2 separate regions of the Homo sapiens genome follow, and region 2 is linked to region 1. Evidence: promoter capture Hi-C in 16 types of primary human blood cells and fetal thymus (Javierre and others, 2016). All regions are on one chromosome and are shown on one strand. Each heading gives the region's core, a stretch centred on a gene start or on the middle of the fragment in contact. The rest is flanking DNA. Distances are from core to core; before and after follow the strand shown.

Region 1 (7,011 bases), core at 3,373-5,872:
TGCTGGGAATGAGGGTTATGTTATCTGTGAAAGAGAATACAAATTCTGCAAAGTAAACCTGGCAGTTTGGGGAAAATGTGTTTAACTCACCCACTCCCCTCCTCGTTTGTACTATTGCTTTCCTACACTTTTTTTTTTTTTTTTTTTTTTGAGACAGAGTCTTACTCTGTCACCCAGGTTGGAGTGCAGTGGTGCAATCTCAGCTCACTGCAACCTCTGCCTCCTGGGTTCAAGCAATTCTCCGCCACAGCCTCCCAAGTAGCTGGGATTACAGGTGCATGCTGCCACACCCGGCTAATTTTTGTATTTTTAGTAGAGATGGGGTTTCACCATGTTGGCCAGGCTGGTCTCGAACTCCTGACCTCACGTGATCCGCCCACCTTGGCCTCCCAAAGTGCTGGGATTACAGGTGTGAGCCACCGCGCTGGCCAACTTTCCTACTTTTCAATTTGAGTTTACTCAGGGGTTGGAACATTTATTCCAACAAAATGTGCCTGATGTAACCTCTCAGTGATTAAGCACGCCTGCTTAGTATGCATCAACTTCAGCGCAGTATGTGCACCTCTCTGAGGACATCTCTACTAAGCCCTCAGTGACTGATGCTGCTTCACTTTCTTCAGGTGTATAAATTGAAAAGGCAATTTTTACCTGCTATGAAGTCCCAAGAAAACGGGACTTGGCTCCTTGGGCATATTAGCCTTTAGTCTTGTTAGTGATGATCAGATGTTGCTTGAGCATATTTGGAAAATAACTTTGTATGTTGAAATTTTGGGAAATCAAAGTATTATACTGCAAATCACTTGAAAGAGGGCAAATACCAAATGGTAAAGCTTAGCCAGATGTGATATAATCATTTCACTGAAGATATGAGATAGGTAAAATTTTTTTCTTATAGGTAATGAACACATTTGATTGTAATTTGAGTTAAAGTATTATAGTCCCTTTTAAAAAAAAAGCCCAGAATGTTAAAAGTGTGAACTCCATTTCAGCAAGTTGAAAACATTTGAGTGTTTAAGATATTATCACAGGTCTGCGTATTCCAGGTTCAACTTACTAGGAATTCTGGATTCTAAGTATTTTAAATTGAAGTTAAAGTGAAATCAAGTGTAAATTAATCTGTGATTTTTTTTTCGTTCTGGTTATTTTTAGGTAAATAAATGAGGTCAGGATGTGAGACTGGCGAATAATATATGCTGAGATAACCCATTACTGTGATTGAATTCCAGGAGGAAATTGAAGAGGGGTGATGACGCAAAGGTGAATACAGACAACATGAAAACGGCTAATACATGTTGGGAAACTTTTTTTTTCATTTCTTTTTCTTTTTCTTTTTTTTTTTTTTTTTGAGACGGAGTTTTGCTCTTGTTGCCCAGGCTGGAGTGCAATGGCACGATCTTGGCTCACTGCAACCTCCGCCTCCCCAGGTTCAAGGGATTCTCCTGCCTCAGCCTCCCAAGTAGCTGGGATTACAGGCACCTGCCACCATGCCCAGCTATTTTTTTTCTTTTTTTTTTTTTTAGTACAGACGGGGTTTCACCATGTTGGCTAGGCTGGTCTGGAACTCCTGACCTCAGTCGACCCACCTGCCTCGGCCTCCCAAAGTGCTGGGATTACAGGCGTGAGCCACCGTGCCCAGCCCAAGTGAAAAACTCTTTACCACAATTAATAGGTGAGTTCATTAGGGATGATAGCACACCCTTCAGAAACCGTATTTACTACAGATCTCCCACAACTATCACACTCAATACTAACTAAAAGGCCAGAGGATTGGATTCATATAACTTTTTTAAAAGTACACATATATTTTATAAATATAAGGATATTATTTGCACTAGCAATTTATCTGTATTCCTAAAGTGTCATACAAATGATTCTTGCAAATCTGTTTTAACTAGGGAGAAAACAATGTATTGAGATAGTTGGACTAGACCTATCTACCACTAACACTAAACTTGGAAGAAAAGATCCAAGAGTTCATAGCTTAATTCTAAACCATCTATGCTTCTCACTTGAAAACAGAGAAGGGCTGATGTAAATGAGTTGTGAGGGTATCTGACTACCTTAAAAGCAGAATATTTGAAGGTTTTAGCCCTGGAAGGATTCCTAGGTGAGAAGGCAGCACCTATTTCATATTCTACTTTTGGTTGCCTCCTGGCTTTTGTTTTGTGACCTCAACCAGACTCCTTGTGTAGGTTACAATTTATTTGTGGATGTGAACCCGGGCTCCTTTTGTAGGTTATAGTTTATTTGTGGGTGTGAACCCCCTTCCTTTGCCTGGTTCAATTTCTTCAGTGGTTTAGGAAAGACACCCCTCCAAGCAGTGGCCTGTTTTAAATCCGTAGGCCTCTCTTCCTACCACTCACTTCTTGGCCCAACCCCCCTTCACATTCCTCTGCTTGGGAAGATATTGGGGCAAAAAAGGCCTCATACATTTTTTATTAAGAAACCATTTTCTCTCTAGGATGGGCACAAGGTGCAGGGCTATTTCCTTACATTAGAAGGTATTTTAAAACCTGGGCTGGAGACGCCATGCTGTAAATTTAAAATAAAAAAAAAATGTAAGCCGAACCTTCTTTTTAACCTTAAGAATAGTCTTCACTATTCTCCACCACCTTCCCACCGGCTGTGTAGAAATAACGACCACCAAATGAGAATAGGCTATTTACTCAGAGCTGGCAAGAGTCAGCCGCGACCCATCACTTGATTTAACAGACTCATAGGCAGGCAGGGGAGTGGAAAAGCTTTACATATACTGAAAAAAGGGAGAAACTTCAGGTTGGCTCTGATTGGAGGATGTTGGCATCGGGAAGTTGGAGGAGGGCTATACTAGAAGCAGGGCTTCTTACGCGATTGGTGTGAGGAGCACATTTGGCTTTCTCTGATTGGCCCAGAGCTGGAAGCAGGGGCAAGAAATAGGGAAGCTGCCGGTTAAAGATTAAGTCCTGACCCTTCTGGCCGATTACTGAAGAGGTTATGGGTAGGAGGTCATGGTTAGGTTTGGCCATTCTTTGTATATTCAGTCTCTCAATTGGGTGAGGATTAGATTTTGTTTCTCTTGACCTAGCTAGCTTTTAGCTCCAAAGTTTTGTTTAACTTGGAAGAAGACAGCAGTTCTATTATTTCTGTCAAGGATAAACACAGACATTGGGATCTGAAAAGTATTATGGGAACATACATAAATATCTTCATAGTGAGGGTCAGGCCGGAGAGTCACCCTTTGCCTTAAGCTTCTCCATTTCCTTACTGAATTCCTATTTCTATTATAACTGACGCTTCACTAGCTTCCCTCCCTTTAGTGGAGGGCCCGGCCTCCTCCGCCCCTACTTTCTTCAGTCTTGCCCTTCGAGGGCAGGAGAAGACGGTTGCGCCCTACTAACTCTTCACCTTACAGTCCAGCTTCTCCCCCCACCACCCCGGTGCGCTCTCTCGGTTTGCTACCCTCTCCACCAGGCCTCCCCACTCCACCTGCGCAACGCCCCCAGCTCCGTGCTCTCCGGAGTAATCCCCCCTCAGTCGCACTCTCACAGCCCGGCCCCTGCCCCCGCCTCACCCCCAGTTGTGCCTTCACCTCCCGGTTCCTCCTAGACAGGTCCCCCAAGATACGCCCTCACAGTCCGGTCCCCCGCCGTCCTCTCCCGGCGCACGCTCAAGTCCGGTGCCTTCCCCCCGCAGACCCCCGAGGCGCACCCTCAAGCTCGGTGCCTCTGCGCCCCCCGCAGGGGCGCCCTCAAGCCTGGTACCCTTCACATGAGAGCCCCCCGGGCGCACCCTCAAGCTCGGTGTACCCCCCCATACCACCCGCAGGCGCGCCCTCATGCCCGAAGACTTCCCCCGCCCAGGTGCACCCTCAAGCCCGGTGCCTTCCCCCACAACCAGCGCCCCCAGGCGCACCCTCAAGCCCGGAGCCTACCCGCCGCCAGGCGCGCCCTACAGGCTCGCCCCGTCCCACCGCGCAGCGCCCCCCGCGCACTCTCTGGAGTCCTCCCTCCTGCCTGGTGCGGCCTCCGGGCCCGGTCGGCCCCCCTTCCTGCCCCCACACTCAGACGCGCGCCCGGCGTCTCCGGGTCGCTAGTTCCGCGCCTTCCTGCATGGAGGCGCGCCCCGAGAGGCTCGGACGCGGCCCCTTAGGCCCGGCATCAGCCTCCCCGGCCAGCTGGAGAAGTCAGGTCAGCTTCCTGTCCCCGAGCAGCTGCCCGGGGGCCAGTTTTCAAAACATATCCTTAGTCATGTAATAAAGAGATGTTCCTCTGGTCTCAACTCCCGATTTTTACTTTGGAGGGGCGAAGGCAGGCCTACCCTTGCCAGCCACCATTTCTCAATCACGTCGCGGCTGTGGAAAAGCAGCCGTCCTGTCCCTTCAGAAAGGAACTCGTATTTCCCCCTCGAACTTTTCTCGTCGGTGTGAGAGAAGGGCCCTCCATTTTCTCCTCAGGAAGCTTTCGCGGCCCGACTTCCTCTCACCACCAGGCCAGGAAGGCAGTGACGCCGCGGCGAATATAGCCGCGGCGGCCGAGGTTTCGCCATCTTGAGTGGAGGAGGAGCCGCGGTCGCCGCCATGCGGAGAGGCAGGGAAAGAGGGAGGAGGCGGCGGGCGGGCGAACGGGCGAGCGAGGGAGGGGGCAGAGGAGCCGAGTTAGCTCAGCCAGGCGGCGACTTCGGCGGCGCCACGAGAGCGGGCAGCGGAGGAGGTAGGGCTGGACAGCCGGGGGAGCCGGCGGCTCGGGCGGCTGGCCTGCGCGCCCCTCGGAGCGGGGCGGGGGCGGGGGCGAGAGGAGGCCGTAGCGAGAGGGCTGGGTGGGGGCGGGCGGAGGTTTCCGAGGAGGAAGGAGCGTCCGCCATTTTGGGAGCTTCGAGTCAACAATAAAGGACCGAGGGTGCCGAGCGGGAGTGGCCTCGTTGGTAGGACACGGGCCCGAGTCGCGAGGCTTGGGGTGAGGTGGTGGGGTCGAGGTCAGCGGTGCTTTGGGGGCTGTGGGGAGCCCCCCGGGCCGGCTCTGGGGGACTCTCGGGCGGAGGCCTAAGGCCTGGCCGGGCCTGGGGAGGAAGGCGGTCGGCAGCTGTGTGGGGTGGGAGCGCCTGAGAGGAGGCGAATATAGGAATGTGGTGCGCAGCAGGGTCGGCAGGAGGAACAGGCTAAGTACTCGGAGTAGCTTTATCGAAGATGAGGGAATATGAGGCCGAAGGGGGCGGCAAGGACTTAGGGGGATGATGGTGGAGGTTATAGGGTACGAGGCGGCCCTATAGGGGGCGGCAGGGACATGCTGTATTGGAGGGCTCGGTTTAGAAGCAAACCGGCCGCTGCTTGATTGCAGTAGGCCTTGCGGGTCAATAACAAGAGGGTATTTATGGAGCCCCCGACTCTTGGAGGAAAGGAGGGGGATTTCTGGTTTAGGGGGTCCATTTGGGGCCTCCTTGGGGGAGTCCCTATTGTTTGCTACTAATGGAGCGGTTGCTGGCTCATATTGCGCAGATAAGATTGCAGAGCCCCAACCTTTTGTGTTTATGGTCAGAAGTGTGTGTGTTTGGGGCGTGGGGCGGGGTGCGGGGGGACAAGAAATTTCCTTTCAGTTACGGGGTTCCAGTCATTAGTCAATGACTCTTTCCCGTATCTCTCTCCTTTCTCTTCCTCAGCCCCCATTTCCCTTCAGAATAAAACCCAGTCACTCCAACTTGCAGGCAAAGCTAGAAAAACTGCGCTGCATTTGCAAACAAAAGCTCTTGTTGGCGATGACGATACTGTTTTGGGTGTGAAACTGTCAATTGCTAACTACGATCTGTGAAGTGCTGTAATTAACTCCGCTAGGGGCTCCTCCCAACTAGTCTACGTTTCTTGTTGTTTGTTTTTTGTTTTTTTGTTTTTTGTTTTTGAAAATGTAGAAAACTTGCAAATCTAAATTGGGAAGGGGTAGGAGGAATATTTCCTTCTCTGAGAAAAAGCTGCAGTGCAGGTTTCAGTTTAAGAAGGGAGCAGTTATCACATAGTCTCATTTTGGATTTAAGGATATAGGAGGTCTTACTGTGCATGATGGACAGTAATGATGATATCGTTCGGTCTTTAGAGGTTGCCCTTTTCATCCTCTTAGTGCTCTGCAAACAGCTAAGTCTCTGTGAACTGCGTGATATCGCTGATCATAATATAAAACCGTCAATACAGGAAAGTAGCTGTTAACCATATCTGCTTAAGAGGTCAGAGTCTGAAGTAAACAGCTTTGTGTATGTGATAATCAGGATTTGCTTGTGAGCAACTTGTTCATTTTTTTTTTAAGGAAGGCATAATCAAGGAGCATTTTCTTCATAAATGTTGAGATCTGTTGACTTTAAAATTTTGAGTTTCACATGCCTTGGTGTATGGCAGAAAGAATCAGCACTCGTAAGCTAGTGTATTTTATATAAGAAATGTAACGGGGTTGCTGGGAGCGGTGGCTCACACCTGTAATCCCAGCACTTTGGGAGGCCAAGACAGGCGGATCAGCTGAGGTCAGGAGTTCGATACTAGCCTGGCCAACATGGCAAAACCCCGTCTCTACTAAAAATAGAAAAAATTTAGCTGCGCGTGGTGGCAGGCGCCTGTAATCCCAGCTACTCGGGAGGCTGAGACAGGGGAATCGCTTGAACCCAGGAGGCGGCGGTTGCAGTGAGCCAAGATTGTGCCACTGCACTCCAACCTGGGCGGCAGAGCGAGACTCCGCCTCAAAAAAAAAAAAAAAAAAAAAGTGTAACGGGGTTAAATCAAAAGCCAACAGAGTAGGGCTTTGTTTTCGTGTCTTTGTATGTTTTTATTAACTCCAATTAAAAGTAAGATTTCAGCCGGGCACGGTGGCTCTCGCCTGTAATCCTAGCACTTTAGGAGGCTAAGGCGGGCAGATCATTTGAGGTTAGGAGTCCAAGACCAGCCTGGCCAACTTGATAACACCCCGTGTCTACTGAAAAATACAGAAATTAGCCAGACCTGTAATCCCACCAAGCTACTTGGGAGGCTAAGGCATGAGGATCGCTTGAACCTGCGTGGTG
Region 2 (7,011 bases), core at 2,552-5,051, 110 kb after region 1:
GCATGGTGGCTCATACCTGTAATCCTAGCACTTTGAGAGGCCAAGGTGGGAGGATTGCTTGAGCCCAGGAGTTTGAGACCAGCCTGCGCAATATAATGAGGTGTTCCCCCAGAACAAAGCCAGTCTGCATAATGGGCAGAAGATCTGAATCACTATAAACCTTGCTTAAAAGAAGACATACAAGTCGCAAACAGGTATATGAAAAGGTGCGCTACATAACTGATCATCAGAGACATGCAAATCAGAACTACAATGAGATATTATCTCACTACGGTTAAAATGGCTTTTATCCAAAAGACAGGCAATAACAAATGCTGGTGAGGATGTGGAGAAAAGGAACCCTCATATACTGTTGGTGAGAATGTAAGTTAGTACAATCACTGTAGAGTCATGTGTTTTTTTAAAGAACATTGGCTGGGCACGTTGGCTCATGCCTGTAATCCTAGCACTTTGGGAGGCCAAGGCGGGTGGATCACCTGAGGCCAGGAGTTCGAGACCAGCCTGGCTAACACGGTGAAAACCCATCTCTACTAAAAATACAAAAAGTAGCTGGGTGTGGTGGTGGGCGCCTGTAATCCCAGCTATTCACGAGGCTGAGGCAGGAGAATCGCTTAAACCTAGGAGGCAGAGGTTGCAGTGAGCCAAGATCATGCCACTGCACTCCAGCCTGGGCAACACAGCGAGACTCCATCTCAAAAAAAAAAAAAAAGATGTTTAATTTTATGTGTCAACATGGCTAGGCAAAGGTATCCAGATAGTTGGTCAAGCATTATTCTAGATGTTTCTGTGAAGATATTTTTTAGATGAAAATAACATTTAAATTTGTAGACTTTGAGTAAAGCAGGTTACCCTCCCTAACTTGGATGGGCCTTATCCAATCAGTTGAAGACTTTAATTTGAAAAAGACTGACCTCCCCAGAAGAAGAAGGAATTCTCTCAGCATGCTGCCTTCAGACTTGAACTGCAGCTTCTTCCCTGTTTCTCCAGCCTGCCAGCCTACCCTAGAGATTTTGGACTTGCCAGCTACCTCTCAAACTCTCTCTCTCTACCCCCATCCCCCATATATGTATTGTTTCTGCCTAATACGGTCCAGGACCAGATGGCTTCATTGGTAAATTCTACCAAACATTTAAAGAATTAACAATCCTTCTCAAACACTTCCACAAATAGAAGAGGGGCATATTTCCTAACTCATGCTATGAGGCTAACATTACCCTGATATTAAAACCAGATAAAGACATCACAAGAGGGCTGGGCATGGTGGCTCACACTTGGGGAGAAACACTTTGGGAGGCCAAGGCGGGAGGATCACTTGAGGCCAGGAGTTCAAGACCAGCCTGGGCGACACAGTCAGATGTAGTCTCTACAAAAAAATTTAAAAATTACCCAGGCGTGGTGGCATGCACCTGTAGTCCTGGCTACTCAGAAGGTTGAGGCCAGATGACCACTTGAGCCCCAGGAAGTCGAGGTTGTGGTGAGCTGTGTTCATGCCACTGTATTCCAGCCTGCTGGGTGATGGAGCAAGACTATGTGTCCAAAAAAAAAAAAAAACAAAACAAAACAAGGAAAGAAAATTACAGTCAAATATGCTCTATACATATTGATGCAAAATTCCTCAAAAAAATACTCGCAAGCCAAAACCAACAGTTTATTAAAAGGATTAGACATCATGACCAAGTGAGATTTATCCAAAGAATGCAAGGGTGGTTGCACAGCATTGTGAATGTAATAAAAGGAAATTGAATTGTACACTTAAAAATTGTTGACCAGGCATGGTGGCTCACACCTGTAATCCCAATACATTGGGAGGATGAGGCAGGAGGATTGCTTGAGCTCAGGAGTTCCACACCAGCCTGGACAACATAGGGAGACCCAATCTCTAAAAAAAAAAAAATTATTTTTAATTTAAAAATTAGTTGGGCGTGGTGGCATGTGCCTGTGGTCCCAGCTGCTCAGGAGGCTGAGGTGGGAGAATCCCTTAAACCTGAGAGATCAAGGCTGCAGTGAGCTGTGATGGAGCCACTGCATGCCAGCCTGGGCAACAGAGCGAGACCCTGTCTCAAAAAACAAAGCAAACAAAAAAAACAATGCCAGCTGCCCACATTACTGGGTGGAGCTATCTGAACCTTTACTAGTTCAGAGTGGTGCCTGATTCATGAGTCATTTCTTTGCTTGAATAAATGGTTAAATTTAATTTGTCTAAGGTTTTTCTTTTTAATAGCAGTAAACACTGCTCAGGTGCCACAACTGACATCCTTAACTGCAAACCTAAGTCCTTCAGGAGAGGTCATGCCTATCATTAAACTCCATGTGCCTTGCCCACCCCCTGTCCCCTGTCCCTTCAGCTCACCTTCCATATGTTGAGGGGATGAGCCTCCTAAAGTAACCGAATCTGCTTTTTTTTTTTTTTTTTTTTTTTTGAGACAGAGACTTACTCTGTCGCCCAGGCTGGAGTGCAGTGGCATGATCTCGGCTCACTACAACCTCTGTCTCCCGAGTTCAAGCGATTCTCCCACCTCAGCCTCCTGAGGAGCTGGGATTACAGGTACCCGCCATCATGCCCAGCTAATTTTTGTATTTTTGTAGAGACGGGGTTTCACCATGTTGGCCAGGCTGGTCTTGAACTCCTGACCTCAGGTGATCCACCCGCCTCGGCCTCCCAAAGTGGTGGGATTACAGGCATGAGCCACTGCACCCAGCCTGAATCTGCTTCTTAAGCTCACAAACTTCTCTGCTGGTTCCACTTTGGGGAATTACAAGGAATTACATTCCTTGGCTTGGCAAAGACCATTTCCAGACTGGTGCCAACATGTTCCTCCAGTCTATCTCAAAACCCTTCCCTGCATGAACACCAAGTTCTCTGCAGCTAGGCTGAGGGGTTTGCTCTTCTCTTCACATGCTCTGCATACATTGTAGTGGTCTCCAGCCCATTTCCCTTGGCAAACTCCTATGCGGTCATCAAGACTCATTAGGACTGGCGCAGTGGCTCACGCCTGTAATCCCAGCACTTTGGGAGGCCAAGGCGAGCAGATCATGAGGTCAAGAGATTGAGACCATCCTGGCCAACACAGTGAAACCCCGTCTCTACTAAAAATACAAAAATTAGCTGGGCGTGGTGGCGGGCACCTGTAGTCCCAGCTATTCAGGATGCTGAGGCAGGAGAATTGCTTGAACCCGGGAGGCGGAGGTGGCAGTGAGCTGAGATCACGCCACTGCACTCCAGCCTAGCGACAGAGTGAGACTCAGTCTCAAAAAAAAAAAAAAAAAGACTCATTACAAATGACACACTATTGTGGGTCTCCCTTAGTCCTCCCCAGACAGAATGGTTCTACTGTCCTGTGCTTCCGCTGTATCTCTTGCAGATAACAGTGAGAGGCCCTGAATTTCACACCACACCAGGGACAGGATCTTGAGCCATTCCATTTGAAATGTTAAGGGAAATGGTAACTCTCTGAGGTTGGTGGTCTTGGGGCCACCCAAGGAACCTGGCATCCAGGTTACAGGTGTGTGGCCTCGACTGTGTCCCTGGCCTTTGGGTGCCCACTCCCCACCCCCACCACCATGCTCTGAGGGAAGGGCCTGAGCCATTGGCACCAGCTGAGACTGTGAAATAGAAGAGGCAAAGTAGAAGCAAGGGAGGTGGCCACTGTGCCCTGAGAGCAGGAGGGGCAAGCGGGCCACACACAGACCAAGCACACGTCCCCTCAGGTGGCCACGCCTCAAAGGCTGGACTTTGGCCGACTTGGACAGGCAGGTGAGCCAGGCTGTGCCCAGCAAGCCGAAGGTGCCTGGGCTTGCTCATTCAGTCACAGTCACAGCCACCATGCCAGGGAGGACCTGGGAGCTGTGCCTGCTACTGCTGCTGGGGCTGGGACTGGGGTCCCAGGAGGCCCTACCCCCACCCTGTGAGAGGTAGGGGTGTGGGGAAGGCAGCAGGGGAGGATGGCAATAAGAGGGAGGCTGGGATGAGATCTCAAGCTCTGGGGTCGGTACTTCAGAGGGAAAGGAAGAGATTATAAAGGAAGGAAAGAGTAGGGAAGAGAAGAAAATGAGAATTCCTATGTAGCAGGCTCTGTGCTGGGCACTGCACCTGCAGTCCGTTTTTTTTGTTGTTGTTGTTAGAGTCTTGCTCGGTCGTCCAGATGGAGTACAGTGGCACCATCTCCACTCACTGCAGCCTAGACCTCCCGGGTTCGAGAGATTCTCGTGCCTCAGCCTCCTGAGTAGCTGGAATCACAGGCATGCACCACCACGCCCAGCCTGTCATTGATTTTTACCAAAATTTTCCACCGTTGGAAGGGACATTAGGCTTGGCGACTGTGCTGGGAATACAAGCGTGAGCCACCGCCCCCTGTCGGGACCTGCAGTCCTGATACCAGACGCAGCTGCCAGAGCCTGGCCTGAGGTCCAAGAGCCTGCTGGCCAGAGCCCGCCCTCCCTTCCTCTCCTCCTCCAAGCTGCCCCTTGAACTGTGCAGGCCTCTTCTCAGGATTGTTCTAGCAAACTTTCTGCTCCAGCTTCCTAGTCTGGGTGTGAGAGGCAGCCTAAGGGCCTGAAGACAGCACTTGGGCTTGAGCCCTGACCCTCATATTCTCTCTGTGACCCAGGGCAGGTCAAGGCTCTTTCCTGAGCCTGAGTTTCCATCACCAGGGACAGAGATGAGTGACCCTGTCCTGTCTCCTGGACTCAGGCGATGTCCACCCTTCGTTCCACATGGATTTATGGAGCTGTGGCCACATCAGCCACTTTACCAGCTCCTGCAAGAACAATAATAATAGAAGAAAAACAGCTGGGCACGGTGGCTCATGCCTGTAATCCCAGCACTTTGGGAGGCCAAGGTGGGAGCTATCATCTGAGGTCAGGAGTTCGAGACCAGCCTGGCCAACATGGTGAAACCCCATCTCTATGAAAAATACAAAATTAGCCGGGCATGGTGGCGCACGCCTGTAATCCCAGCTACTCGGGAGGCTGAGGCAGGAGAGTCGCTTGAACTTGGGATGTGGAGGTTGCAGTGAGCCAAGATCATGCCATTGCACTCCAGTCGGGGCAACAAGAGCAAAACTCTATCTCAAATAATAATAATAATAATAATAGAAGCAAAACAGTAACAGAAGCACAGTTTGAAGTAGAGAGAAGTTAGGGCCCGCTGGTGTGGGTGAGCAGAGGGTGTGTTAGAGAGGATGGGGAGGGACGGTGTCTCTGAGGAGGTGATGTGTAAGCAGAATTGTGGCAGGAACCATTGCTGAGCTGATCTGGGAGAGGACAGTCCAGGCATGGAAAGGGCCATGCAGAGGCCCTGACGCACTGTTCAGGGATTGGGACGAAGGCCTGTGTGATTGGGGCAGAGTGGGAACAGGTCCGGGGAGAGCGGGGCTCCAGGCAACAAGGTTTGGGCTTGGGTTCCAGTGGTTAGACTAGAGACAGAGACAAGGGGTTCAATAGAGGGTGTGTGTTACAGGGAGAGTTGACAGTGCTTGCCCATGACAATTGTGGAATATAAAGGGGAAAAGTGTACCTGGGATAATTAATAGGTTTTGTCCTGAGCAATTGTAATGAGGACTTCAGAGAGGCTGGGTGGTCCAGTGCTTTGTCAAGCATTAGGCTGTTTGCCAAATGTAGGGGAAGATGACTTTACTGGTGTTCCCTAAGACCAACCTCAGGCCAGTGATTCACTAACACTTCCAAATGGTTATACCATGATTATGGTTTCATTTTTTTTCTTTTTTTGAGACAGAGTCTCGCTCTGTCGCCAGGTTGGAGTGCAGTGGTGCAATCTCGGCTCGCTGCAACCTCCACCTTCTGGGTTCAAGCGATTCTCCTGCCTCAGCCTCCCCAGTAGCTGGGACTACAGGCACCTGCCACCACGCCCAGCTAATTTTTGTATTTTTAGTAGAGACAGAGGTGTTGCCATGTTGGCAAGAATGGTCTCAATCTCTTGTCCTTGTGATCCGCCTGCCTCAGCCTCCCAAAGTGCTGGGATTACAGGCATGAACCACCGTGCCCAGCCTTGATTATGGTTTCTTACAGTGAAAAGATACATGTTAAAGCCATCAAAGGTGAAATATTCTAGGGCCAAGTCCAGGAGAAAATAATCTCAATCTTCCAGTTTTTCCTCTCCCAGTGGATTTATATGGACAGGACTTGATTTTTCCAGCAATAACATGTGACAGCACGCATGAAGTATTGCCAATCACAAAAGCTCACCTGAGTCTTGGTGTCCAGTGTTTTTATTGGAGGTCAGTGATGAAAGCGTGGACTACCTGTGTGGCTGACCTCAGTTACTCACTCTCCAGAGTTCAAACTGATACTGGGCGGCCAAAGGCCCCTGCCACAAATCACATTATTAGCATCAAATATCTGGCATGGCCCAAGGCCCCAGAAAAACAAAGACTTATCAGGCAGCATATTTTGGTAATTTAAATCTCATCTCTCAGGGCTGGTCACAGGCCAGAATTTTCTCTGAAATGTGCAGGGTTTGAACACAGCAGACCTGCTGAGTCAATCCTTTCATGTATAAGCCACTTCTTGTATAATGAGGAATTAGTTTCATTTTTGTCTTGGGTTCCTCCAAAGTAACCTCTAAGCTCCTTGGAATCTCCCAAGTGATAGGAATGTCTGTTATTAATAGTGGTCCCTGATTAGTGTTTTTTTGTTGTTGTTTTTTTCTTTCTTTTTTTTTTTGAGACAGCAATCTAGCTCTGTTGCCCAGGCTGGCAGTGCAGTGGTGAGCATTTTGGCTCAATGCAACCTCTGCCCCCAGGGTTCAAGTGATTCTCCTGCCTCAGCCTCCCAAGTAGCTGGGACTATAGGCACGCACCACCACGCCTGGCTAATTTTTGTATTTTTAGTAGAGACGGGGTTTCACCATGTTGGCCAGCTGGTCTTAAACTCCTGACCTCAAGCAATCCACCCACCTTGGCCTCCCAAAGTGCTGGGATTACAGGCATGAGTCACTGCACCTGGCCTGATTGCTTTTTGAGACAGGGTCTCACTCTGTCACCCAGGCTGGAG

The links. Contacts are between HindIII fragments. The CHiCAGO score rates a contact against its expected background, and 5 or more counts as called.
Region 2: the fragment with the promoter of TREH here is called in contact with the fragment with the promoter of DDX6 in region 1 in 4 of 17 cell types (non-activated CD4 T cells, naive CD4 T cells, naive CD8 T cells and 1 more); the score reaches 7.3 in non-activated CD4 T cells.

What each region holds. Positions count from the first base shown.
Region 1 is chr11:118,788,775-118,795,785 of GRCh38, reverse strand. DDX6 (DEAD-box helicase 6) reads left to right here and starts at 4,622. Exons shown (of 14, transcript NM_004397.6): 1 at 4,622-4,688. RefSeq lists enhancers at 2,737-2,846, 3,235-3,790, 4,407-4,516, 5,827-6,006, 5,465-6,022 and silencers at 3,847-4,136, 4,587-4,916, 5,547-5,626. The HindIII fragment of the contact is 4,863 bases long and covers 4,439-7,011 here.
Region 2 is chr11:118,676,440-118,683,450 of GRCh38, reverse strand. It overlaps TREH (trehalase), which reads left to right and starts at 3,801. Exons shown (of 15, transcript NM_007180.3): 1 at 3,801-3,912. The coding sequence starts at 3,824. RefSeq lists enhancers at 3,250-3,909, 3,910-4,571. The HindIII fragment of the contact is 8,736 bases long and covers 1-7,011 here.